3 separate regions of the Homo sapiens genome follow, and all the other regions are linked to region 2. The links are contacts of gene promoters, found by promoter capture Hi-C in human tissues and cell types (Jung and others, 2019). All regions are on one chromosome and are shown on one strand. Each heading gives the region's core, a stretch centred on a gene start or on the middle of the fragment in contact. The rest is flanking DNA. Distances are from core to core; before and after follow the strand shown. Region 1 overlaps ELL (elongation factor for RNA polymerase II). Region 2 holds the start of RAB3A (RAB3A, member RAS oncogene family). Region 3 overlaps KLHL26 (kelch like family member 26).

What was found. Contacts are between HindIII fragments. The study calls those that stand out against the background at their distance.
Region 1: a contact is called between a fragment that was not itself captured here and the fragment with the promoter of RAB3A in region 2, in 2 of the 25 tissues and cell types used here (dorsolateral prefrontal cortex and spleen).
Region 3: a contact is called between a fragment that was not itself captured here and the fragment with the promoter of RAB3A in region 2, in 1 of the 25 tissues and cell types used here (dorsolateral prefrontal cortex).

Annotation. Positions count from the first base shown.
Region 1 is chr19:18,505,387-18,509,319 of GRCh38, reverse strand. All of the region lies in intron 1 of ELL (elongation factor for RNA polymerase II), which reads left to right. Among named protein-coding and RNA genes, the nearest start is that of ELL, 15 kb to the left of the region's middle. RefSeq lists an enhancer at 1,058-1,899. The HindIII fragment of the contact is 5,227 bases long and covers 31-3,933 here.
Region 2 is chr19:18,202,691-18,206,451 of GRCh38, reverse strand. RAB3A (RAB3A, member RAS oncogene family) reads left to right here and starts at 2,410. Exons shown (of 5, transcript NM_002866.5): 1 at 2,410-2,556; 2 at 3,712-3,761. The coding sequence starts at 3,712. It overlaps LOC102725254 (a long non-coding RNA gene), which reads right to left and starts at 1,722. Exons shown (of 2, transcript NR_134910.1): 1 at 1,553-1,722; 2 at 889-996. RefSeq lists silencers at 1,059-1,118, 2,004-2,393 and enhancers at 1,774-1,873, 2,059-2,353, 2,386-3,168. The HindIII fragment of the contact is 10,728 bases long and covers 1-3,761 here.
Region 3 is chr19:18,645,085-18,648,961 of GRCh38, reverse strand. The region is part of intron 1 of KLHL26 (kelch like family member 26); the gene reads right to left. Among named protein-coding and RNA genes, the nearest start is that of KLHL26, 10 kb to the right of the region's middle. RefSeq lists enhancers at 1-57, 58-868. The HindIII fragment of the contact is 9,166 bases long and covers 1-3,877 here.

The DNA.
Region 1 (3,933 bases), core at 1,395-3,894, 300 kb before region 2:
TTCGGGGTACAATGAGCTTCCTGCTGTGGATCTTGTAGCCCCTACACCTGGAGGGAGTGACCTTAGGGTCTCAGTGGGCACTGTGATAAGGATGCCTGCTGGATTGCATCAGGGCGCCTGGTTCACAGGACCTCCAACCTGGCTGCTGTGGGGAAGGGCCCTGGTGGGTGCCTCCTGCTCACGGCTACTCTGAAATATTATTCCCGAGATCTTGAGGGGAACCTGGGCTGCGTCCACCTCATGTTTGCTCCATTTCCCCATGGAATTAGTGGTAGAGGTGACTCACAGGGTCTCTTTTTGTGTCCTCAAGGAAACTGAGGCCTATAGGCTCTGCCCAGGGTCACTGCTATAGTTGCTTATCCCCACAACAAGGCTTGCTGCCTTGTTAGGACGCGGACAGAGTGGGCTGTAGTGTGATCTTTTTCAGCAGCAACCCTAGAGACTATAGCGTGTTGGTAAACTGTGGCCAAAGGGCTGGGTCTGGCCTGCCACCTGTCTTTGTAAATAAAGTTTTATAGGGACACAGCTGCCCACTTGCTTACCTGTAATTTATGGCTGCTCTTGCCCTGTGACGGCAGCCAAGGCTGCAACTGTCTAGCTCACAAAGCCTGAAATACCAACTCTTTGGCCCTTCATAAAAGAAGCTTGCTGGCCGCTGGTCTAGGGTGTCCAGCTGGGTGTGTGGCAGGAAGAGTTGGTGTGTTAATGGAACCACTGTCGTGGGGCCAGGCTCGGGCCTTGGGCTCCCAGGCCCCTGTGCAGTGCCAGGCAGCCCTGTGAAGCCTTGCTGTTGGCCAGGGCCAGTTGAGACTTTGGAGGGTCCTTTTGTTCTGGCCCCTTTATTTCACTAATGGGACATCTAGAAGATAATGGCTAACTTGAGATCACACAGTTAGTGCAGATGATGTCAAACCTTGAACCTGAGGGCATCCACTCTGGGACAGGCTACCCTCCTGGCTGCTGACTCTTGTATTGTATTTTATTTTATTCTATTTTTGTTTTTATTTTTTAGAGAGAGGGTCTTGCTGTGCTGTCCAGGCTGGAGTGGAGTGGTGTGATCATAGCTCACTGCAGTCTGTTAACTCCTGGCCTCAAGTGATCCTCCCGCCTTGGCCTCCCAAAGTGCTATAGGCGTGAGCCACCACACTCAGCTGTGACTCCTATTTTGATCTCATGCAAACTCAAAATGTTTCTCAGCCCGCATGGGAGTCCCTGGGTTTTCCGGGAGTTTTTCTCAGGGACTGCATCAATCCTGACATAGCCTCCAGTGGGAACCGGCCTCTTTATTTGTGACCTGTATGTGACCTTTGAAACAAAACACAGTCATGTGCAGCCTGGATGGGAAGGGCTGGCTTGTGTGTCCCTTGTGGAGTTGGGAGCAGCTGCCGCATGGAGTCAGCCTCAGCCTGCTGCATCCTCATCTCTGGGGATGGAGCTGGGGGTCAGGCGTCTGCCTCCAGATGGGTAGTGGGGCCCGCAGAACCTGTGTCTGATTCTAGTTGGGCTCTGAATGCAGTCTCTGAGCTGAGCCTCAGCTGCGTGGTTGTTCGGCGGGGCACAACCTACACAGTGCAATCTCCTACACAGAGGGATTGCACCCAGTGAGGGTTCGGCTGCCTCCAGGAGTGTTTCTCCAGTAAGAAGCAGGAGGGATGAAGCCCCTGCGCTCACATGGCCCACTTCTTCGCAGCGGGGAGGTGCACCATAAACCAGCAACAGCCAGATCATGGTGGCTTCAGACTGGCTTGGTGTGCAGTGGTGGTGGACATGGGCAGGCAGGCATCTCCCTCCACAGAAGCAAGCTCACCTTGGGCTGGGGAGACCTAGGAGACCCTTCCAGAACTTTCTTAGCTCGGGGCAAGTGCCGTGTGCAGATTAGATTCTTTGTTAGATACCAGTGGCTTGAAAGACTCAGAGGAGGACTTCCTGAGCAGTTCTCTGCCAAGGGGCTGTGGGTCTGTGGCCAGGCTCTGGCAGCAGACTTGGCCTGTTTTCACTCTTCTTATCTGGGGATGTTATCTCTCCCTTTTCAGAGTTGGGTGTGACCCTTGAACTGCCACAGGCCAGGCACAGACTGTGCAGGGAGGTATCTGAGGGCAGGGAGCGGGTGCAGCTAGAAGAGCGTGTTCCTTCCTCTCCTGGTGGCACTATTTTTGGAGTTGGATGCTCTCAGACGCCTGCTTGTTCCAGTGAAATGTGCTCAGCTCACACTGGATTTGGCAAGTGGGAGGGGACAGCCAGTGCTGGCAGCCTGTGTCCAGCTCATCTCCAGGCTGCCCTGGCTCTCTTACCTGTGCACAGGCTCCCACTGGTCGAGGGCCATGTGCCTGGAGCCACATGACCCCATAATGTAGGAATCGCTTCCATCTTGTAGGCCAGCTCCTTGTAGATAGGAAGTGGAGCCGTGTTGAGAAGGATTCTGAGGCGATGTCTGGCGTAGAGCGTAGGATCAATGAGACAGGGTCCCTGGCCCTCTGATCATAGCATCTCTGTGGGGAGAGTTCCCTCTAATCTCTGAGCTGAGGAGGGTAACGAACTCCTAGGTGTGCAAGGTGAGGTTCACATGCTGTTGAACGGAAGTCTGCTTTTGTTTTTTCAGACGAGGTCTTGCTCTGTCATCCAGGCTGGGGTGCAGTGGTGTGATCATAGCTCACTGCAGCCTTGGCTCCCGGGCTCAAGTGATCCTCCTACCTCAGCCTCCCAAATAGCTGGGACTACAAGTGCGTGGCACCACACCTGGCTAATTTTTTATTTATATGGAGACAGAGTCTCCCTGTGTTGCTCAGCCTGGTCTCAAACCCCTGACCTCAAACGAACTTCCTGCCTTGGCCTCCCAATGTGCTGGGCTTACAGGCGTGAGCCATGGCACCCAGCCGAGCAGAAGTCTGGGCTGATGCTGCACCCCAGAGGCACAGGAGCTTTGGATCCCTTTCCCCCTGGGGGAGAGGGTAACTTGCCACAGTCTGCTCTGAAGCAGCCCGGGTGTCCCTCCACTGTGGGAGGCGGCTTAGGAGCAGGCGCACCTTGAGGGTGGCCCAGGCAGGTCGCTGGAGGGTGCGGGAGACAGGGCCCAGGCCTGGGGCGGTGCCAGCAGGGCTGTCTCCATGTTGACTGTGGGGGGCTGGTTCCAAGCCAGGCTTCAGACCCAGCTGCTGCGTGTGGCATGGCCTGAGTGCCAGGGGCAGCAGCCTGGGCACACATGGGCACCCAGGGCTTGGAGGGAGGCTGGGTCAGTGGGCCTAGGTGCAGAGCTTCTGGGTGTCTAGACTGTTGTCCCAGGGATGGCTGAGGGCCAGCATGGGGGGCCCAGGCTGCCACCTTTGCCTCACTGGTATTGGCCACATGTGTGCTGGGTGGTCTGTGTAGTACAGAGCAGGACACAGGGTGGGGGTACCTGACTGTACAGTGGTGCCACCCTCTGGGCCTCAGTTTCTCCCTCTGCTGTGTGGGGTCATCCTGTGGGTGGGAGGTCAGGTCAGTGCCTGCAGCCCCTCCTGCAACTCACATTCACCTCTCCTTACTTTGCTTTCCTGTCCGTGGGGTGTTTTGGGGTTCAGGGAGCTGTGTCCCAGGACATCAGGGGAACACAAGCCGCATCCCGTGGCCCCCACTCCTCTCCCGTCCTCTTCTCCCCTCCCCTGTGTGTGCCTGGTGCCTTAGGTGGCTTGCAAGGCGCCAGTCACACACTGTTTCCTTTCCCGGCTTAGCCCTTTCCCATCACAGAAACCCCAGCTCTCTCCCAGGCTATCTCATAGTAAGGAGCCTGCGTTACTGAGGGCTGTTGAAGCACCAAAACCTAGGAAACTCTGGATGAGGTGAAGAGCATGTGTGTGTGTGGCACAGGTACTATGGCCCTGCCCAGTGCTCTGCACACCTGCCTTCCTGCCTGCCTGGGAAGTGGGATGAGTAATGGCAGTAGCTGGGGCTTATTGC
Region 2 (3,761 bases), core at 1,161-3,660:
CTCCTGACCTCAAGGTCAAGGAGTGATCCTCCTGACTCGGCCTCCCAAAGTGCTGGTATTACAGGCATAAACCACCGCACCTGGCCACATTTTTATTTTTATTTGTCTAGTGTAGACGATAGGGTAGGGATGCAGGGAAGCCTCTGGACTTTCCTCTGAGTGGGACCGGCCTGGAAGCCTAGCCCGTTCTCCCACCAGCTCTGTCTCCCCTGACACAAAGAAAATACCCCAATCCCGCAGCCCCTCCCCCAGCTCAACCATTTCTAATTCCAGAGCCCAATGCTGCTCTGGACAATCAAGGGCTTGCATTCTTTTTAAATTTAAATTAAGTAATTAATTTTTTGAGACAGCGTCTCACTCTGTCGTCCAGGCTGGAGTGTAGTGGCGCGATACGGTTTCCTACAGCCTCGACCTCCTGAGCTCAAGTGATCCTCCTACTTCAGCCTCGGGAGTATTTGGGTCCACAAGCACGCGACACCACATCCAGCTAATTTTTAAATTTTTTGTAGAGATGGGGCCTCCCTATGTTACTCAGGCTGGTTTCCAATTCCTGGGCTCAAGCGATCCTCCCGCCTTGGTCTCCCAAAGTGGTGGGATTACAGGCGTAAGCCTCCGCACCCGGCTATTTTTACTTTAAAATACTAAGTCAGTGACGGAAGCTTCCGCACATTCTCGTGGCTCACTTTTCTCTTCCTGGGGAAAAAAGGCAGGAGGTATTTCCGAGAGAGCCACCCATGTAGGAAGCGTGCCTTTGGGCGATCAGGGAGCTGAGCAACCGAAAAACCTCCCCTCCAAGGAGGCGGCAGGCCAGGGCCTGGACCAGCTGCCCTGGAGCCCCCCACAGAGCACGGACTACCGCGTGGGCGCGGAGGGCAGGGAGAATGGGAGGTGGATTTCTTTTTATTTTTTGTTTTTCTGAATTTTCCCAATTTCTCTGCAGTGGATTGGTGATACTTCTATAGTCCGAGTGGGGGAGGAGGGAGCAAACATGTTACCCTAAAAAGAAAAAATAAATTTCCCAAATGTAAACGGTGCGGGGACGTGGGGGTGGGCGTCCCAGTACTCCCAGGGCACTGGGGGCGGGCTGGGGACTGGGTTGGCGGCGGCTGGGCCTCGAGGCGCTAAGTTATTCTGGTCTCTCGGCGCCTCCGCAGCTGGCGAGCTTTTTATAAACAGGACGAGTCACCCCCCGCCACACACACACGCTCCAGCCCCGCCTACTGGGAGGGGTGGGGGGAGAATCTAGGGGATCAGGACTCTCCTGGGGGCCACACACCCCTGGAGGGTTTGAAAGCTGGAGTAGGGGGAGCAGGAGACCCAAAGTGGGGGCTGGGGTTTCGGGCTCCTCCTCCCTCCCCAAATTCTGACTTCCTTCCCTAAAGATTTGGAGGAATAAAAGATGGACCATCTTAGCTCCCAAAAGGCTCCATCCTCTGAGTTTTGCTTTCCCAGGATGGAGGGAGGGGGTCTCCCAGCCCCCGGGTCTTTGAATCCGAGCTTTGAAGAGCTGGAGGCTTCGGCTCGTGCCCTCCCTGTTTCCCGGGGCATTTACCGCAGGCTTTAAGGGGTTTCCGGGACAGGTCGCTTCTCTGTCCCTGCTAAACCTTTTCTTCGAATTTTCTTCTTGATGACGGGGCGCAGGGAGGGGAGGGGGTTCCCAGAGAGTCCATCAGCCCCTTCCTCCTTTTCTGGGAATGGTGGGGAGGGGAGGCTCTCTTGACCTCTACTTCTTTCTTTTCAAACCTCAGAAACGGGGGAGGGGTGGAGTCTTTACTAGCCCCTCCCTCAGTGGGGGGGTCTTACGCCTCGGGAATGGGACAGGGGTCCCTCTTGACTCCTGTTTATTCTTTGGTATTTATTTTGAACCCCATATATGTGAGGGTATAAAACATCTCTTGGGCCTCGATTTTTCTTTTCTGCAATTGGGAGTCAGGGGCATTTAACAGGGGTCACAGCACCTTGGACTAGACGGTGGCCTCAAGAGTCCCCTACCTGGGGTGGGTGCGGGCGGGTAAGGGAACCGCCCCTCGAAGACCGGGGCTCAGCCAAGGCCTCAGCCTCTCGGCCCTTCAATCTCCCAGATGCCACCATTGGACAAGAGGAGGGCGTAGACAATCTCTGATTGGCTACTTCGCCCGTCGCTCGAGAGCTTAAGCCAGTGAGAGAACGCTGAGGGGCCCCGCCTCCCCGAGGCGGACAGGAGGCGGACGAGAGGCGGAGTCGGCCCCCGCGCCGCTCCCGCCCCTACTGGATGCACACGCTAGGCCCCGCCCCATTTGCACGTCAATCTGCTCAGGAGCCCTGCCCCATCTGGCTCTGCGTGCGTCAATGGGCCACATCTCTACGCGCGGCTCCGCCTCCGGATGGCGTCACGGACTTATCTACATGTGAGGCTCCGCCCCTCCCTTTGCAGGACGTCACGGAGGACTGCAGGGGCCTGAGCCGCTGCTGCCGCCGCCGCCGCGCAGCCCCACATCAACGCACCGGGGTCCTGTCACCGCCACCGCCAAAAAAGTCACCGCCGCTAGGGTCGCCGTTGCATCGGTGCAGGGCAAGGTGAGCTCCTGGGCGGCCGGGTGTGCTCAGGCTCCGAGCACCTGCATAACCTTCATTTGACTGATGGGCTGATGGAGGTGGGGGACGAGGTTGACTAGGGTTGAATGGGGGGAAGGATGCGGCGGTCGCGAGGCTGGGAATGGGTAGGGCCCGGGCGCCCCACTCCTGCCTGATCCTCACCACTAACCCCCCCAACCCCCCTGCTCTGCGGCGGAGGGGGAGGGGAGCCGAGCTCCTTGCGGGAAGCTGTGCGCGCGGGAGGCTTTTGCGTGCGCGTGCGCGTGGTGTGCACACGCGTGTGCGCGCCTGCCTGTGTCAGCGGGTCTGTGTGCACCCTTGCTTGTGTACCTGGATATGCTCGTGTGACGCCGTGGGGGTCTGGGCCTAAGTGTGTGAGCGTTGCACGCGCGTGGAGAAAGACGTGTGGACCGCCTGTGCAGGTATGGCCCGTGCATACAAGCACGGGGATCCGTGTCCGTGTGGGTGATGTGCACACGCCTGCATGGGTGGAGGGGCCTGTGCGCACGGGTGGTTTGCACATTTCTATAGGCGAGTCGGTGTGCAAACAGGTGTCTGTGTCTTTGTCCTGTGCACCTCAGTGCGTTCACACACTCCTGTATGTACGGATGAGCGTGTTTGAGGCTGTGTGCACGTGAGCGTGTGCATGCCCCTCCTGTATCATGTGATGCAGCGGCCTTGGCCGGAGCTCTCCGGCCTGGAGGTTTGCGGGGAGCGGGGGCTGCAGATGCGCGTCCTCGAGGGACCATGCACGCGGTGCACGTGGGGCCGCGCGGCCGGGTTCTGAGGACCATGAAAGATTGATGGGGGGCGGAGCCAGCCGCAGTCACCCCCTCCGGGCTCAGCCCTGGGTTTAGGGTTACAGCCCCACCTGGGGCACCTGCCCCTTGAAGGGGGCTGCTGGGGTGTCCCCATCGGCAACCCTCTGAGCCCCTCCTCTGAAACGCCCAGGATTTCAAGGTCACAGGCTGCCCTCTGCTGGGGGCACCACCAATTAATACTGGGGCTCCTGATGGGATAAGGGTGTCCTCCATACACCGGCCGTTTTCTGGAGCCCTTGCCATCTTCTGCCTGGGCTTGGGCACATGAGGATGGAGAGAGCCCCCCTCACGGCTCTGCTACACCCGGTATCCCCAGATGGCATCCGCCACAGACTCGCGCTATGGGCAGAAGGAGTCCTCGGATCA
Region 3 (3,877 bases), core at 379-2,878, 440 kb before region 2:
TGGCCGGCAGGGGAGTGAGGTGGTCTGATTCCTGCCTTAGGAGGGTCCCGCTGGCTGGAGTTGGGGATGATGCCCAGAAGGGGAAGAGCCAGGAGTGGCTCTGAGCTGGGATGGGGAGGAGAGAGCAGGAGGAGCTGGCTCCAGGCTGTGGCTCGAAGGTGGAACCCACAAGAGATGCTACCTGAGGACCTCCTGGGCAGCTGCAGCCAGACTGAGGCCTTCTCTCAGGAGGAGGGACATTCCCAGGACTGGGACCTGCTGGTGGGAAGACCTGAAGCCCTCAAGGACTGTGGGAGCTCCAAGTGGCACGAACCCTGAGCAAGGAGAGGCATGAAGGGCTTTTCTGGAACACAGGAAGGGCTGCGAATCCCCTAGGCCAGGTGGCGCCTCCAAGTCTGCTGCTTGTTGCAGGCAGTGCAGCCGCGCGGGACCAAGGACAACCCTGACCTTCAGCCTGCCCGGTGGGGAGGGCAGAAACTGGCCACCACTATCAGTCAGCACAAGCTCAACCTCCAGGCATCCCCAAGCCTGCGTGTGCCTCTCCATCCCTCCAGGGCCCACCTTGGCCGAGGGTCCCTTGTCTCTTGCCAGAGGGATCCTTTCTTTTTTGAGACAGAGTCTCACTTTGTCGCCCAGGCTGGAGTGCAGTGGTGCAATCTCGGCTCCTGGGTTCAATCGACTCTCGTGCCTCAGCCTCCAGAGCAGCTGGGACTACAAGCACCCGCCACTGCGCCCAGCTAGTTTTGTGTATTTTTAGTAGAGACTGGATCTCACTATGTTGCCCAGGCTGGTCTCGAACTCCTGACCTCAAGTGATCTACCCGCCTTGGCCTCCCAATGTGCTGGGAATACAGGTGTGAGCCACCACACCCGGCCTACAGAGGGATCCTTTCAAAACAGGAGGCTGACTGATATGCCGCTCACCCAAACCCTGCCCTGGCCCCCTGGCCCAGCCAGCCCGGAAATGACCGCACGACGTTCTCTAACTCCTGCTGGCATGTATGCGCCCCATGGGCAGGGTCCATCTGTCCCATGGACCCTTCATGTCCAGCACCAGGCATGGGGTGGACACAGGAGACTGTGGCACCTGCACAAAGGCAGAGAAATGTGTCTAACAAATCCTGTCCACAGAGCAAAGAGCTGGGGATGCCGGGACACATGCTGCCCAGTCACCCCTTGCCTTCAGTAGATCCCACCCCCTTCTTCCAGGATCCAAGGCCCCAAGTCGCTGAATTATTTCTATCTGTGTCCTTCCCCCTCATCCTCCTCTCTCCCTCCCCATTCTCCTGTTCTTTTTCTCCTCCTCTCTCTTTCCTCCTCCTCCTCTCTTCCTCCTCCTCTTCCTCCTCTTTTTCTCCTCCTCCTCTTCCTCCTCCTCCCTCTCATCTCCTCCTCCTCTTCCTCCACTCTTCCTCCTCCTCCTCTCTTCCTCCTCCAGGGCCTCTTAACACCAAATCTAAAACATTCCCTAAAACCAAAGGGTAAGACACACACACACACACAAATATCAGAAAAAGGAAAAAACCAAAGGGCTGGAGTGAGGAGAAAGCCTCCCTTTTACAGTGTCTGAGGAGAGGTGGGTGAGATAAAAAGTAATCGCCGTGGGGGAGGTGGGATGACATTCGCAGGGGCTCCCTGGAGATGGTGCGATTATGGCGGAGGGTAATAAAGCCTTTCTTCCCCGGTAACTACGGACAACGACAAGGAGGCCGTCCCGGGGGTCACAGCTACCAGGTGGAAACAGTCCAGCTGTGACGATCGCACTGCACGATTCAGGTTGAAGTGAGTGCTTTCAGAGCAATTCCACTCCCAGAGCTCTTGGGACCTGCCGACAAGGAGGGGAGGAGAGGGTGGCCTCCTTCCCAGAGAAGGGGCTCAGCTGTGAGGGGCAGATCGAGTGGCCTGGATGTGGCTCGGCCTGTGGGCCAGTGCCCTTCTTGGGCTGGCCCAGTTCCACCTGCCCCCATCCCTGCTGAGACGCGCCACCCCCCGCCGCCCCTGCCCCCGCCCTGCCGAGCTCCTGCTCCCAGGCCTACTCCTGGCGGAACCTGCCCTCTCCAGCTCACGCTGGACGTGCTCTACTCTCTCGCTGCCCCTGCTGCTGTCCCTCTTACGGCCCAAGTCATGGCACTACTGTCTTCCCAATGGCTCAAGTTCACCCTCTCCTTTCCCTGCCTGACACACGCACGCCACATCAAGGCTTGCTGGCATTGACGATCCCCTCAAGGCCCATGCGGGCATGGCGGGCAGAAGGATGGCAGTGTCCCCATCATGGGCGTCAGCACTGCCACAGTAACACTGATGAGGTACATGTGACCTCTCCCCACTCGTTTCCTCCCAGACACCCCCCACCTGGTGGGCCTGGAGCCCCATTTCCCAGATGAGGAATCTGTCACAGCCACAACCCATAAAGAGGGAGCCACAGTCACCCATGGGTATGATGAGACACCTCATGCCGCCATATCTGACCACATTTTCCAGGAGAAGGACTTGAGTCCACGTCTTGGAAGGGTCAAAATCCTCCTTCTGAAAGGGGCATGAGGCCGGGCGCACTGGCTCATGCCTGTAATCCCAGCACTTTGGGAGGCCAAGGCAGGTGGATCACCTGAGGTCAGGAGTTCGAGACCAGCCTGGCCAACATGATGAAACCCCATCTCTCCTAAAAATACAAAAACTAGCCAGGCATGGTAGTGGGCGCCTGTAGTCCCAGCTACTTGGGAGGCTGAGGCAGGAGAATCACTTGAACCCAGAAGGCGGAGGTTGCAGTGAGCCAAAATCATGCCACTGCACTCCAGCCTGAGCTCAGAGTGACGTCAAAAAAAATTAATAATAATAAAAAAGAAAGGGGCAAGAGGCCAAAGGAATGAGAACTTCCCCAAAGTAGCAAGAACCTCCTTGGGAAGCCACCTCTTCCCCTAAGTCTTCCTAGCAGGAGCTGGGGGGCTGGACCCTTCCAAGGCCTCTGGGCTTGGTGGAGATGATCTAGATTGTGGAGAAAGCTTCAACAGGCAAAGGCCACCCAGCCAGACTGACTGTGACAAACCCACCGGGCGCAGCGTCTCGGCCACAACTTTCCATGCAAACACTTTCAGCAGGCAGCAAAGCCCCTGGGCACAACGTCCCAGCCATCACTTCTTTTTTTTTTTTTTTTGATACAGAGTCTCACTCTGTCGCTCAGGCTGGAGTGCAGTGGCAGGATCTCGGCTCATTGCAACCTCCTCCTCCCAGGTTCAAGCGATTCTCCTGCCTCAACCTCCAGAGTTGCTGGGATTAAAGACGCCCACCACCACACCTGACTAATTTTTGTATTTTTAGTAGAGAGGGGGTTTCACTATGTTGGCCAGGCTGGTCTCAAACTCTGGACCTTGTAATCTGCCTGCCTTGGGCTCCCAAAGTGCTGGGATTACAGGAGTGAGCCAAAGCACCCAGCCTAGCCACCACTTCTTATGCAAATGCCTGAAGCTGGCACATCCCTCACCCAGATCCCCCCACCTCACCCCCAGGAACAGCATGACTCAGTGAGCCTGGGCCCTACCCAGGCGTCTCCAGGGAGCGTGGGCCAAAAAGCGTGGATGCCAAAGGCCCATGTCGGAGAGGCTGCAAGGCCAGAAGGTTCCTCCAAAACTCTGCCGGTCAGGTACCTCACAGTGACAGAATTTTAGCTGGGGAGGTGCGACTCCCCAGAGGGTTTGCCTCCCCTTGCGACACCCCAAGTGGCCCAAGCCTCCTTTCCCTCCAAGGAGTCTAGACCCCGCGGCCCGAGCTGGGAGGAGGCCAGCTGGTGAACAAGTGTCCTTTGTGCTTGCAGCAAGGACCCCACCTCCTCTCCGCACACCCCAGCCAGGGCAGCCCCACTCTGTCCATCCCTGAGGTTCGGC